Regions from separate parts of the Homo sapiens genome. Here region 1 is linked to region 2. The links are contacts of gene promoters, found by promoter capture Hi-C in blood cells and fetal thymus (Javierre and others, 2016). All regions are on one chromosome and are shown on one strand. Each heading gives the region's core, a stretch centred on a gene start or on the middle of the fragment in contact. The rest is flanking DNA. Distances are from core to core; before and after follow the strand shown.

The links. Contacts are between HindIII fragments. The CHiCAGO score rates a contact against its expected background, and 5 or more counts as called.
Region 1: a fragment that was not itself captured here is called in contact with the fragment with the promoter of CWF19L2 in region 2 in 1 of 17 cell types (non-activated CD4 T cells); the score reaches 5.2 in non-activated CD4 T cells.

What each region holds. Positions count from the first base shown.
Region 1 is chr11:125,626,651-125,633,050 of GRCh38, reverse strand. It overlaps CHEK1 (checkpoint kinase 1), which reads right to left. Exons shown (of 13, transcript NM_001114122.3): 2 at 6,218-6,302; 3 at 5,221-5,444; 4 at 3,755-3,819; 5 at 3,591-3,660. The coding sequence starts at 6,282. Among named protein-coding and RNA genes, the nearest start is that of CHEK1, 4.7 kb to the right of the region's middle. RefSeq lists enhancers at 6,243-6,292, 5,853-6,396. The HindIII fragment of the contact is 1,976 bases long and covers 3,896-5,871 here.
Region 2 is chr11:107,453,896-107,460,016 of GRCh38, reverse strand. CWF19L2 (CWF19 like cell cycle control factor 2) reads left to right here and starts at 2,192. Exons shown (of 18, transcript NM_152434.3): 1 at 2,192-2,305; 2 at 4,241-4,351; 3 at 5,445-5,567. The coding sequence starts at 2,201. RefSeq lists an enhancer at 1,908-2,413. The HindIII fragment of the contact is 1,493 bases long and covers 1,424-2,916 here.

The sequences.
Region 1 (6,400 bases), core at 3,634-6,133, about 18 Mb before region 2:
GAACTTCTCTTAAAATAAGCAAAATAGACAAAAAGAAATTTAAAAAAATAAAATAAATCATCATCTATGCTAAAAGTAGAAAAAGGCCTCACCTCTTCTATTAACTTAAAAGAAGTATTATCAACACACAGAACAGTCTGGACCAGATTAAAGAAAGAGGCTGGAGTCAGAAGGGGCTGCCCTTCTGGAAAAGAGCACTCTAAACCTGAGATGAAAGTAAAGCAAGGCCCCTCATCAGGTAGGGTGGAGGGCAGGAAGGAAACATCAGTAGTATGTTAGGCACAACTTTCTCAGCAGCAAACAAACCCAGTTGGCAGAAGAAAATATGTGAAGACACACCAAAATTCAACAAACCACAGTAATTTTTTTCTTCAAAGTAGAGAGTCTGAGAAAAAGAGGACAAACTCTGTACAAAAAAAAAATATCAGAAGACCCAACTTCCACCCTAACTTCCCATCTTCAACACACAAAAACTGCAGGCAGGACTTAACTTATGTTTAGTGAATATCTACTGTAACTTAGTGACAGACACTATGCCAGCCAATGCAGGTAATAGATAAATTAGTGAAGACTGACAATAGAAAACTGTTATGAAGGTTATAAAAATATAGAGCACTATAGGATCTTAGAGCAAAGGAATGTAACCCAGTCTTAAGAGTTAGAAAAGGCCCTCTATTATCAGAGGGCAATTTGGCAAAACATACTAAACTGTGAAACATTCACTCTTTGAACTAGCAATTCCCACTTCTATATCCATAGAAATAATCCCACAAATTCATAAACATAAGAATATTCATAGCAATATTATTTGTAAATAAATGTCCAAATTTGTACAATGGAAAATGTGGAGGTAGGTTTTGAAAACAATCAACAAGGTATATCTATACATACTAACATGAAATAGTGTGTAAGTGGGACAAAAAGGCTAATGGCATAAAAAATATTATAGCATAAAAAATATTATAGCATGACGCAATTTTTATATTGGCCTTTTACACAAATTGATAGAAGCCATCACTGTCCTATTTTATAAGTTAGAAACAACTTAAATGTCTCAAAATAGGGGACTGATTTCTTTAAAAATCAAGTACATTCACACAATATGTAAACCAATGAAATGTTTACCTCTATCTGACTTAGGAGGTAGCTACTGTGATTACCCTTTTTTTTTTTTTTTTTTTTTTTTTTTGAGAAAGTGTCTCACTCTGCTGCCCAGACTAGAGTGTAGTGATGTGATCACAGCTTACTGCAGCCTTGACCTCCTAGGCTGAAGTGATCAATCCTCCTGCTTCAGCCTTCCAAGTAGCTGGGACTCCAGGTGTGCACCACCATGTCTAGCTAATTTTTTTTTTTAATTTTTCATAAAGACAGGGTCTATGTTGTCTAGGCTGGTCTCAAACTCCTAGAATCACTCAATCGTCCCACCTCAGCCTCTGGGATTACAGGCATGAGCTACTGCACCCAGTTGATTATCTTTTCAGTAGTTAAATATGACACTATTGGACAAACCACTGAGATTGAGTTTCAAATTACTTATGAGTAGTAATCACTTAAAATACTAATGGATAACTATAGTATTCCTTGGACTTTGTTATGTCTGCAACATAATACTCAGCTATGTTAGAGAACTGCACATAATAAAATTTAAATGTAGGAATGTGTTTAGCTCTTAGAAAAACAAAGGAAGAATATATTTGTGATGAAATAAACAGGAGGACATTAAATACTGGTAACATTTTATTTCTTTTTTTAAAAGACTCCTAAATATTAAATAGAAACAAAGAATTATATCTTGTATATTAATACAAGATATAAAGAATAACAATGTAATAAACACCCACTCACTTTAGAAAAACAATGCTCTATTTCCTTTGAAATCTTTAAATACTTCCTTAAATACATTCCCTCCCCTACTTTCTTAGACCATTCTGAATTTGGTTTTATTATACCCTTGCTTTTCTGCATGTTTTTTTCTCCATGTTTACATACTTGAACAATATACTAGGTTTTACATATTTTTGAACTTTGTATAAACAGAATCAGACCATATGAATTCTTTTGCAACTGTCTCTTTTTGCTCTACATCATTATATACCTGAAATTCATCCATGTCACTGCTTGTGACATGCTTGTGTCACTGCTTGTGACATGGCTTGAAAAGCCATGCATTTCATAATTTATTGTTGACAGACATTTGGGTTAGTTTCCTGCTATATTAAAAACATCACCACTGTGAGCATTCTTATATACGAATAATGTTGTATTTTTAAACCAGGTGGGTTGATATACATATATTTACATTTCATTATAATACATAAGAATTTTTGTGTACCTGAATTTTTAAAGTTTTAAATAAAAATAAAGATTTTTATGTCATATAAACTCAGTTTAAAGGGGTAAAAAGTAAAATCCATATGCACATAAGAAAAAAGCATGTATAGGCTGGGTACAGCGGCTCACACCTATAATCCCAGCACTCTGGGAGGCCAAGGGAGGCAGATCACTTGAGGCCAGGAGCTCGAGACCAGCCTGGCCAATATGACAAAACCCCATCTCTACTAAAAATATAAAAATGAGCCAGGTGTGGTGACTCAGGCTTGTAATCCCAGCTACTCAGGGGCCTAAGGCACAAGAATCACCTGAACCAGAGAGGTAGAGGTTACAGTGAGCCGAGATCATGTCACTACACTCCAGCCTGGGCAACACAGCAAGACTCTGTTTCAAAAAAAAAAAAAAGCTGACCATTTGTTAAGCACTATTCTAATACTAAGAATAAAGCATTAAACCAGACAAAAACTACTGCCTCATACAGCTGACATTTCTTTTTTGATTCTGACCCTGTAAGCTTAAAGCTTTCGCTATCCATCCTTCTCAATTTGATGACATTCAGAAAATATAACTAAATTTCTTACATTTTTATCCACGTCATACATAAAAAAAGAGTGAACAGGACAAGACTAAGGTCCAGGGTATTCCACAGGAACTTCCCTTTATTAATCCATTAAAGGATTATTTTAAACTATTCTTGGCCAGGCATGGTGGCTCACGTCTATAATCCCAACACTCTGGGAGGCTAAGGCTGGTAAACTGCTTGAGTCCAGGAGTTCAAGACTAGCCTGAGCAACACAGGAAGACTCCACCTCTTCAAAAAATCAAAAATTAGCCAGGCATGGTGGCACCTGCCTGTGGTTGGTCCTAGCTACTCGGGAAGCTGAGATGGTAGGATTGCTTGAGCCTAGGAGGTCAAGGCTGCAGTGAACTGTGATAATACAGTGCACCCCAGACTGGACAACACAGTGAGCCTGTATCAAAAAAAAAAAAATTATTCTTATACATATAGTGAGCTAGGCTTGCACCTAGGTCAGATTTCTCTACCTGATCCGCACTTGTATTGCAAAATGAGACTTGTGATTTCCAAATATACGAAGTCTCCAAAATTTCCTTGATTTTTCAGATCTTGTCTTGAAATTCCAGTAATGCAAAAAGACTTGATTTTGCCTTGTATGGCTATATTAAAATAATTAGGTAATTAAAATAATTTAGGTAATTATTTTATTTTATTTTAGGTAGTGATAAAATGCTAAACTTACCCCTTTCATCCAACAGAAGATTTTCTGGTTTAATATCCCTGTGAGTTATTCCAATACCATGCAGATAAACCTAAGAGGGATGCAGAGAGAAACACACTAGAATTTGGTAATGTAATGTATTCACTCTAATTTTAAGTAAAAGGGAAATAGACAACTATACCTACCACCCCTGCCATGAGTTGATGGAAGAATCTCTGAGCATCTGGTTCAGGCATGCCTATGTCTGGCTCTAAAACAAATATGAAAGTAAGTTTATTGACTAAATATAATCAGGTAGCAACCACATAGCTTCTTAATTTGAAGCTTAGACATTTACAAATGTGCTTAGGCAAACAGAAGCAAATGCCAACAAAAGATTCAGGAGTCCACTAACACATATGGGGCTTAACTCACATTTACCTGTGTTAGGTGGCAAAAGGCGTCATCACAGAAAAATTATAAAGAGAAAACCAATATCCAAATCAAGAATGCAAGCCATGACTTCAAAGCCTCTGCTTCCTCTTATACTAACCCTGATTTATTTAGTAACCTTGAAATTCCCCCCATTTCTTCTAAATGCTATGCTAATTATTTTTCTCATTCCTGAAATATAATGCCAAAGGGGAAGTCTGGGCAAATCTAAGCCAATTTCACTAAATATTTTACAGATTATACTTCTTTTATAATTTAACTTTTTTTAGAGATACGGTCTTGTTCTTTCACCCAGGCTGGAGTGCCCTGGCGTGAGATCATAACTTACTGTAACCTGGAACTCTTGAGCTCAAGCAATCCTCCTGCCTCCTAAGTAGCTAGGATTGCAGGCATGTACCACCACACCTGGCTCAGATTTAAACTTCATATAGTCTCACAGTACAAAACCACAAATGCCTGTGAGGTCCTTCGTGAAACAGTTTTATTATGAAAGTTCTTTTATCAGTTATCTTTTTATATTTTGATCTCTCTCATTAACTCCATTTCTTTTACCCTCAACTCTCTCCTGAGTCACACTGGAGATCCTAATACCTCTTTATCAGTTTTTAACTGATAAACTTATTTAATACAATAGCTTTAAATTATAAATTTAAATTATAAATTTAGATCCAGATTTTATGTACTTCTCAGTGTTCTGAAATATCAATCCTTTGATTCTACATCGAATATTTAAGTATTAATAGCAAACATAGAATTTACTTAATATACAAAAAGCAATCCTAGAAAATTCTCAATTATTTCATGTAAACCAAGAGGAAACAGCATGCTATTTTAGATCTGTAAATGTATAAAATGTATACAATGATTTCATGTAACTAGAATGTCTACAAAGAAAAAATTGTGTAGGCAATACATTGCATTTAGGATACACTGCATTTATGATGTACCATAAAACTTGTTTGTCACTCTTAAATTCTGTAAGACACCAATCTTAAATCAAAATCACTTATATAACTTGGGAAAGAAGTTTTCTTTCATTGACTCTATATATGCTTTTATGTTATTAACACCAGGTGGAAAAATTTTTTAAAGATAATGTATTCCAATTTCACAGTTGCATGAGCAATTTTGAAAGGACAACGACCAAATAGCATGCCCAAGATTTAAAAAACAAATTTAAAAACTTGTTTAAAATAATTATCTTAAATTTCTTCCATACCTATTCTGTCAAAAAGCTCTCCTCCACTACAGTACTCCAGAAATAAATATTGGATATTGCCTTCTCTCCTGTGACCATAGAATTTTACTACATTTTCATGATTTAGCATTTTATTGATACAGATCTCTTTCTTAATATTTTCTGGACAGTCTACGGCACGCTTCATATCTACAATCTTCACTGCGACTGCTTCTTCAGTTACTCTATTCACAGCAAGTTGAACTCTAAAAAGGAAAAGAGTTTTAACATTACAGAATTCCATTTCTTCTAAAACTTCCAAAGATTAAACATGACTCATCCAAAACGATTTTACCTCTATTACTTTTTCCACAAAGGAGAAACCAAGGAAGTGGTTTCTGCTATGTTCTCAACACACACTACTCTTTTCTAAAATGTGAAATACAATAGCTAACCCTCCAAAGACGTCATTATGCTGTCACACAAGTCATTTAATAAACGCTTCATAAAATAGATTGAGATAATTCTAAGCCACATCACATATATACATGTTCTACTCATATACTTTTAAGAGCATTAATCCCATACTATATGTGCTTGTGTAACTGACTGTCCTAAGCTCCTATGGGGTAGATGCGATTATTGCCACCCTAAAGGTAGTGAAGGAGAGGTACACAATGACATTAAGAAGCTTGCCTAAGATCACAAAACAATGACCAGTATGTGATAGAGCAAGGATCTGAAACCAGGCAGGCAATCTCCAGAGTCTGCTCATTTGCTCATTAACCGCAATGCTTAAACCCTGAGAAGCAATTTGTGGGCATGGAAACAATAACTTCGTGTCCCTTCCAGCTCTCTACAAAGAAAACTTTTTTTTTTAAAGGGAAGGAAAAAATTTTTAATCCTAGCAAAAGGCTGTGTAACTTCAGTTGCCAAAACCCTTGGATCTCAAACATCTACTTTCTAAATCACCAGAGTGTGAGACTCCAAAACAATGAATATGCACTCAGAAAACGAAGGCAAGCTTAAAAGAACTCACTCTCCATAGGCACCTTCTCCCAGGGTTTGCACCAAGTCCCAGTCTTCCACAAAGGGCACTGCCATGACTCCACCGAGCACCTCGGCTGTAAAAGGCAGGAATCCAGAAAAGATGTAGAGTGTAAGATCACCAGTGAAGCCACTGAGCCCCGCCTCTCCCCAGGATTGCCCACGAAAATTAACA
Region 2 (6,121 bases), core at 943-3,442:
CCTGCAATCTTCATGAAACTTTTGTAGTTAATTGTGATCATCTGACCTATTTCTGGATCATAGGATTTAAATGAAAGAAACTGAACTAGGCTTTAGGAAAAGCCATCATTTTTCTAATAAAAAATGAGGCCAGCTTAGCTAACAACGTTTACCCTTTGTCCTTTCTCTTTATTCTTGTTTATCAGATGCCGTGAACAGATGTGAAAGAATATGATACCCTGCTTGTGACTACAAATACTAAAGTCACAGACTGCAACAAAGCGAAAAAGGATAAACTATTTGGCTCCTTCAGCAATTGCACCAAGCCTGGACCAGTTACTTTTAGGCTCCTTGTTACGTTATCCTTTATTTGATTAAGCCATGTGACTGGATTCGCATTAGGTGTGGCCAAATGCAAACCTAGCCAAAATAACCTGCTTTTTCTTTCTTTTCTTTTCTTTTCTTTTTTCTATTTTAACATATCTAGTTCCCCTCTCTAACCCCAACTTTTTTTTGGGCAGTTTTATTTGTATTGCATGGTATTTACAAATTAATTGAGAAATGATTTTTTATGATGTTTTCTTCTTTAAGCACATAGTATACCTCTCCATTCGTTCTAGTCTTTTTGGGGAGCTTATGCAAGATTTTAAAGTTTTCTTCATATAACTTTGCACATTGCTCTAGACCGAATGTTTGTTTCCCCAAAATTCTTATGTTGAAATCTAATCCCCAATGTGCTGGTATATGGAGGTAGGGACTCTGGGAGGTGATTAGGTCATGAGAGCAGCACCCTCATGAATTCCTATAAAAGAAGTTCTAGAGAGATCCCTCTCCCTTTCCGCCATATGAGACACAGCAAAAATACTGCCCTCTAGGAACCAGGACACACCTTCACTAGACAGCAAATAGCCCAACACCTTGATTTTATCCAGCCTCCAGAACTGTAAGACATACTTGTTTGTTATTTATAAGCCATCCATTCTATAATATTTTGTTATAGCAGCCTGAACTGATTAAAACACACACGTTTCTAATATAATCACAGTTTATTTTTATTGAATTGATGCAAAACAGTGAAATGGATGTTTTTCTGAATTCCAAGAGAATCTGAAAAGACGTTGATGCTAGTTATGACAAATATCAGTCAATGTAGTCAGTTGATTAAATATTACAAGGTCGATTAGTAAATTACATTTTAAAATAAAATGAATACTTTCTATTGCATATCAAACAAGTAGGCATTGTGTGTTCAAGATTCAGACTCATAGAATGGTAGTGAATGTAAAAACTCTTGGAAAGCTTCTTGCAAACACACATTAAATTTTATGAAACCTGAAGAGAAAGAGTATTTACCTCAACCTGGCTTATGTTACTTATTTTTAGCGTCTTTAAGGTATCGTTTATAATTAATTCCCCAGCCTTCTTCTTCTTGTAAATGTAAGCTTAGTGTCTTATGTTCTCAAAGCACTTCATCACCTTAGAATGTCTTATTCTTCTGAACTTAAAAGTTTTATGTTTGGGCGATACATGCGTAAAACAAAACAAAGAAATCTCCGCAGAAATAAATAAGTAACTGTCCATTGTAATGAAAAATGCTTGGATGGATAAGTATGAGTAAATAATATGGGGTCAGAGGAAAAAATATAATGTAAACTTCTAACAAGTTAAGCACGGGTAAATTGTGAAGTGCAATGCAAAATTCACATGAGTGTTTCATATATTAAGTAAAATCCACCAAAACAAAACACTGAATCTTCAAGGCAATTCTGTCCTTCCTGCCAGCTGCCACTACCTTTCTGGCAGCCTCCCTTTATCCCATTCCTCCAGCACAGGGAAATGATGCTCTGGCGACAAAGGGTACTTCCGCAGAAAACTTTTGAGAGGTACCAACTTAACTTCCAAGAGCTTGTAACTTACTCCGGTGATTTTAAGACGAAATTGGTGAGAAAGCTGTTAATATAGTAAAAAGTGCATAATAAATATATACGGGTATTAATCCTGCTCACAATCGCACCCAACACCTGAAAGAATTAAACCCTCCAACACCCTTCGGGTCTTTAAAATCTGGGCTGCGGTAATCCGAGCCCTAAGCGACCTCAGATGTGCGCATGCCCTGTTGGTGGAGCCGTGCTCCTCCTTCCTCGGGTCCGGAAGTCCCGGTTTGTTTGTTAAATTACGACCGTCGTAAACTAGAATTTTCTTGCGGCTTCTTAGCTTTACGATGGCAACAAGTATGGCGGCTGCTAGTGGTAGATTTGAAAGTGCGAAGAGTATCGAAGAGCGGAAAGAACAGACCCGGAATGCCAGGGCCGAGGTGTTGCGCCAGGTACCTCTGTTTTGGGGCTTTTGTAGTTATTTATTGTTGTGGGAGTTGAGGGTTCCCGTAAGCTAGCCCACTCACCCCTTCCCTTACCTCGTCAGTACTGAATCTCACCTTAATTTGGGTGAGTTCTCCCTTTGCAATGCCGGTAAACCCTTTTGTAGCTACCGATTTTTTAGATGTTCTGGCAGGTGCCAGTTGCTAATTCTCTTTTCAGGCAGATCTGTCGCTTTTTCTCCAAGTTTCTTTACCTTTTAAGTTACCCATTCTTTACATTTCTATCACTCGGACTGCACACTTTGTAGGTCCCCTGCGGCTTGTAAGGACTCTGCCAGCATGTCTCGCAGCCTCAGTCATTGCTACTGCTGTATCTGAAATGAGATTTTCCTTTTTCGGAAACACATTCAAGTCACACTTGAATAGACTCAGTTTGACATTTCCTCCTCCTGTCTCTATTGGTATCAATTCCAGACTTACTGTAAGCTCTTACCAATCCAAACAAAAGTTAACACCAATCTCAGTATATTTAGCCTGTCACAAAAGATCGCGAAACATTGTATTTCTCACTAAACTTCAGATACATAGAGGTAACATACAAAGAATGGAGAAAGTAAGCTTCTGAATTATCTGACAATCTATTCAATATGTAAGAAGTGTGGCAATGAAAGAGAAAAGTTGCAGTTGGAGAGCAACAGAGAATTCAGTGAGGGTTTTTGTTTTTATTTAAGTTGGAAGAGTTTTAAACAAGTTTAAATGCAAATGAGAAGGAGCCAGCAGAGAAGAGGGAGAGGAGACTCTAAAGGGAAAATGACATAGTTTCAAAATTTGGCAAATAATTTGAGGGTGAAGCAGCCCCATTCTCCTTTAATCTCCAATTTTCTCACCCTGTTCTTTGGAGTCCATCATAAGCCCTGCTCTTTTCTCTGATATCGATTTTTCTGTTTGGTATATAACCATTGTATTCATCTTCTTGCCTACACCAAGAATTATTATATGCACCCAGGGAAAAGCTAGCTGCAGAATGTTGGACTACCTCTCCATGATTTTCCCTTTTCTGGAATATTAACTCTTCTAGTTCTTGTTGCTTCAGCAGTTCTCTGATATAAACCTTTAATAAATTATTTTTATATTTGATTAAAAAAAAAAAGAAAATGACTACAGCCAGGTTTTAAAGGGGAAGAGTGGGCGATTAGTCTTGGGTAGGTGAAATGTTGGTATTGTTTCGTAATTTCAACATATGTAATGTGTGTGTGTGGGTATATATATATTATTCATTCTTTTCTCTTTGGTATTTCCAGCAGTTTTTGGAGGGAGTAAGTTTCGTAAGTTGAGATAAATCTTATAGTAGAGATATGCATAGAATTTGAAAAGGACCAAACTGAGCTTTGGAGTTACAGGGAAAGAAAGAGGGCAGGAACGATTTCCTAGGAAAAACTTGCTTTGTTTGACTATCATTGAAGAATGGATAAAAATTACCAATATGATCCTTTCTTTATACAGAGATGATTCTTCCTGAGGCATTTTTGGGGCTGGGTATTGGGGCTACAGGCATTGCATATTGAAGGCGTGGAGGTCTAACTGTTGCAAAAGTCTTAAGGCAGTAGCCATGGGAATGGTGAAGGGAAAAGGGATTCCAAGTCATATTGAGCTAGGGAGCTTAGAGAGATGGGAGGGCCTGGACTCAGTCCCTGGATTCTCTCTGATTGGTAACTCAAATCACTGGAGATTGGAAATGCAGAAGGAGAGATTTTTGCTTTGTTTTGTTTATTTATTTATTTTTTTATTTTTTTACACTGGAGAAGCAAATCCCTGGCAAGGAATAGACATTCATTCATGAGTGGATATTTTTGTATAAAAATGACAGAGGTTTTTGTTTTCCTTTTTTTGTGAAACCCAGTTGGGTCAATTGCCAGTTTGTCTTTTTTTTTTCTTTGGTTGTAGGCTAAAGCCAATTTTGAAAAAGAAGAAAGGCGTAAAGAACTTAAGCGACTTCGGGGTGAGGATACATGGATGCTACCTGATGTGAATGAGAGAATTGAACAGTTCTCACAGGTGAATACTAACAGGTTTACGTGATGTAAGGATATCTGTCCTTTTTTGCACGTATTCAAGTTAATATTGGATGAATAATTTTATAGAATGTTTTCATAAGTTACAAAATGAATATCACATAGTTGGCATTGCTGAATAGTTTCATCTCTTTGGCAGAGGTAAGATATTGTAATATTTTGGACATTATGACTCAAGTTTTGTTATTTGAGTTTGGCTAGTAGAAGACAGCTTCAAATTTCTGGCCCACTATAGCAAGCTTATAGGCCTAAAAATTTATGCATTTTAAGCTTTATGTATTTATTTTATTTTATTTTTTTAGGTCTCAAGCCTGTTTTCCTATAATTTTTTTAAAAATTATTTTTAATTGACAAATAATAATTGTGTAAATTTATGGGTTAGAGTGTGATGGTTTGATCTATGTATACATTATAGAAAGATTCAGTCAAGCTAATGAACATATCCATCACCTCATCAACTTATTTTTTTGTGGTGAGAACGTTAAAAGTCTGTTCTTCAATGGCTTTGAAATAGATAATACCTTATTATTAAATGTGGTCATCAGTAATAGATCACTAAAACTTATTTCTAGTGTCATGAAAACTTTGTACCCTTTGATCAACATCTTCCCTTTCCCTATCCTTGCTCCTTCCCCTAGCCTCTTCCTATAATTTTAATTTGTGCTATCTTGTTATATTTTTTATGGCCTAATAGTCTTGTATAAATTTTTGGGGAGACCATAGAGGGATATTATATGTATGTGTGTTTGTGTGTGTATAGATGCATGTATACATGTTTGTGTATATATGTGTTTATTTGATTATATTTGTCACATTAATCTACAAATAAAGCCAAAATTTTCCCAGTATTTTTCTGGTAAGAAGTCTCAGTTATATGATTTATTGATAGTGCATATATTATAGAAGGTGTGTTAAGATTTCCTGAAAGATTTTATTTATTTAGACATATTCTTGGTCTTATTTCATCAGAGATTGAAAGTTTTTTAGAATGTGGTTTATTTTTTTTCTCTCAGAATACATCCTTTTAAATTAAGATGAAATTAAATTATTTTCTTGCCTGTTCAAAATGATTGTAGGAACACTCTGTGAAGAAAAAGAAGAAAAAAGACAAGCATTCAAAAAAAGCAAAGAAAGAAAAGAAAAAAAAGAGCAAGAAACAGAAATATGAAAAAAACAATGAGTCATCTGATAGCTCATCAGTAAGTATGTACTAAAATTAATCAAAGCAGCTATTTGAGAACATTTTATTTGAATGTGTAACTTATGGGAAGTTAAAATACAAGAAAACGTAAAAAATATATTACTAGTTATGATATGAAAATATCTGGGATACATCTACTTAGAGATGTCCAGAAAATATTGGAAATGTTGATCTTGAATTTCAGAGAAAGGCTAAGAGGATAGGGATATGATTTGGGAATTATTGCTAAGCACAGCACTGGATCTTGCCCAAGGCCTGCTGTAACAATTACCTGGCTACAGCTGGTGTTCACTCAAGGCCCTGGGGCTCTGCAATCAGCAGGTGATGAAGCCAGCCAGGCCTGCGTCTTTCCCTTCAGGGTGGCAAGTTCCCCCAGGCCTGAGGGTGGGTCCAGAGGTGCCATCAGGGACCCAGGTACTGGCGTCAAAAACCTTAGACTTGTACCTGGTGTTCTATTGAACTGTGGCTGAGCTGGCATTCAACCTATGAATGGCAGTCCTTCCCACTCTTCCCTTTTCACAGGCAGAGGGGCCTCACCCTGTAGCCACCACC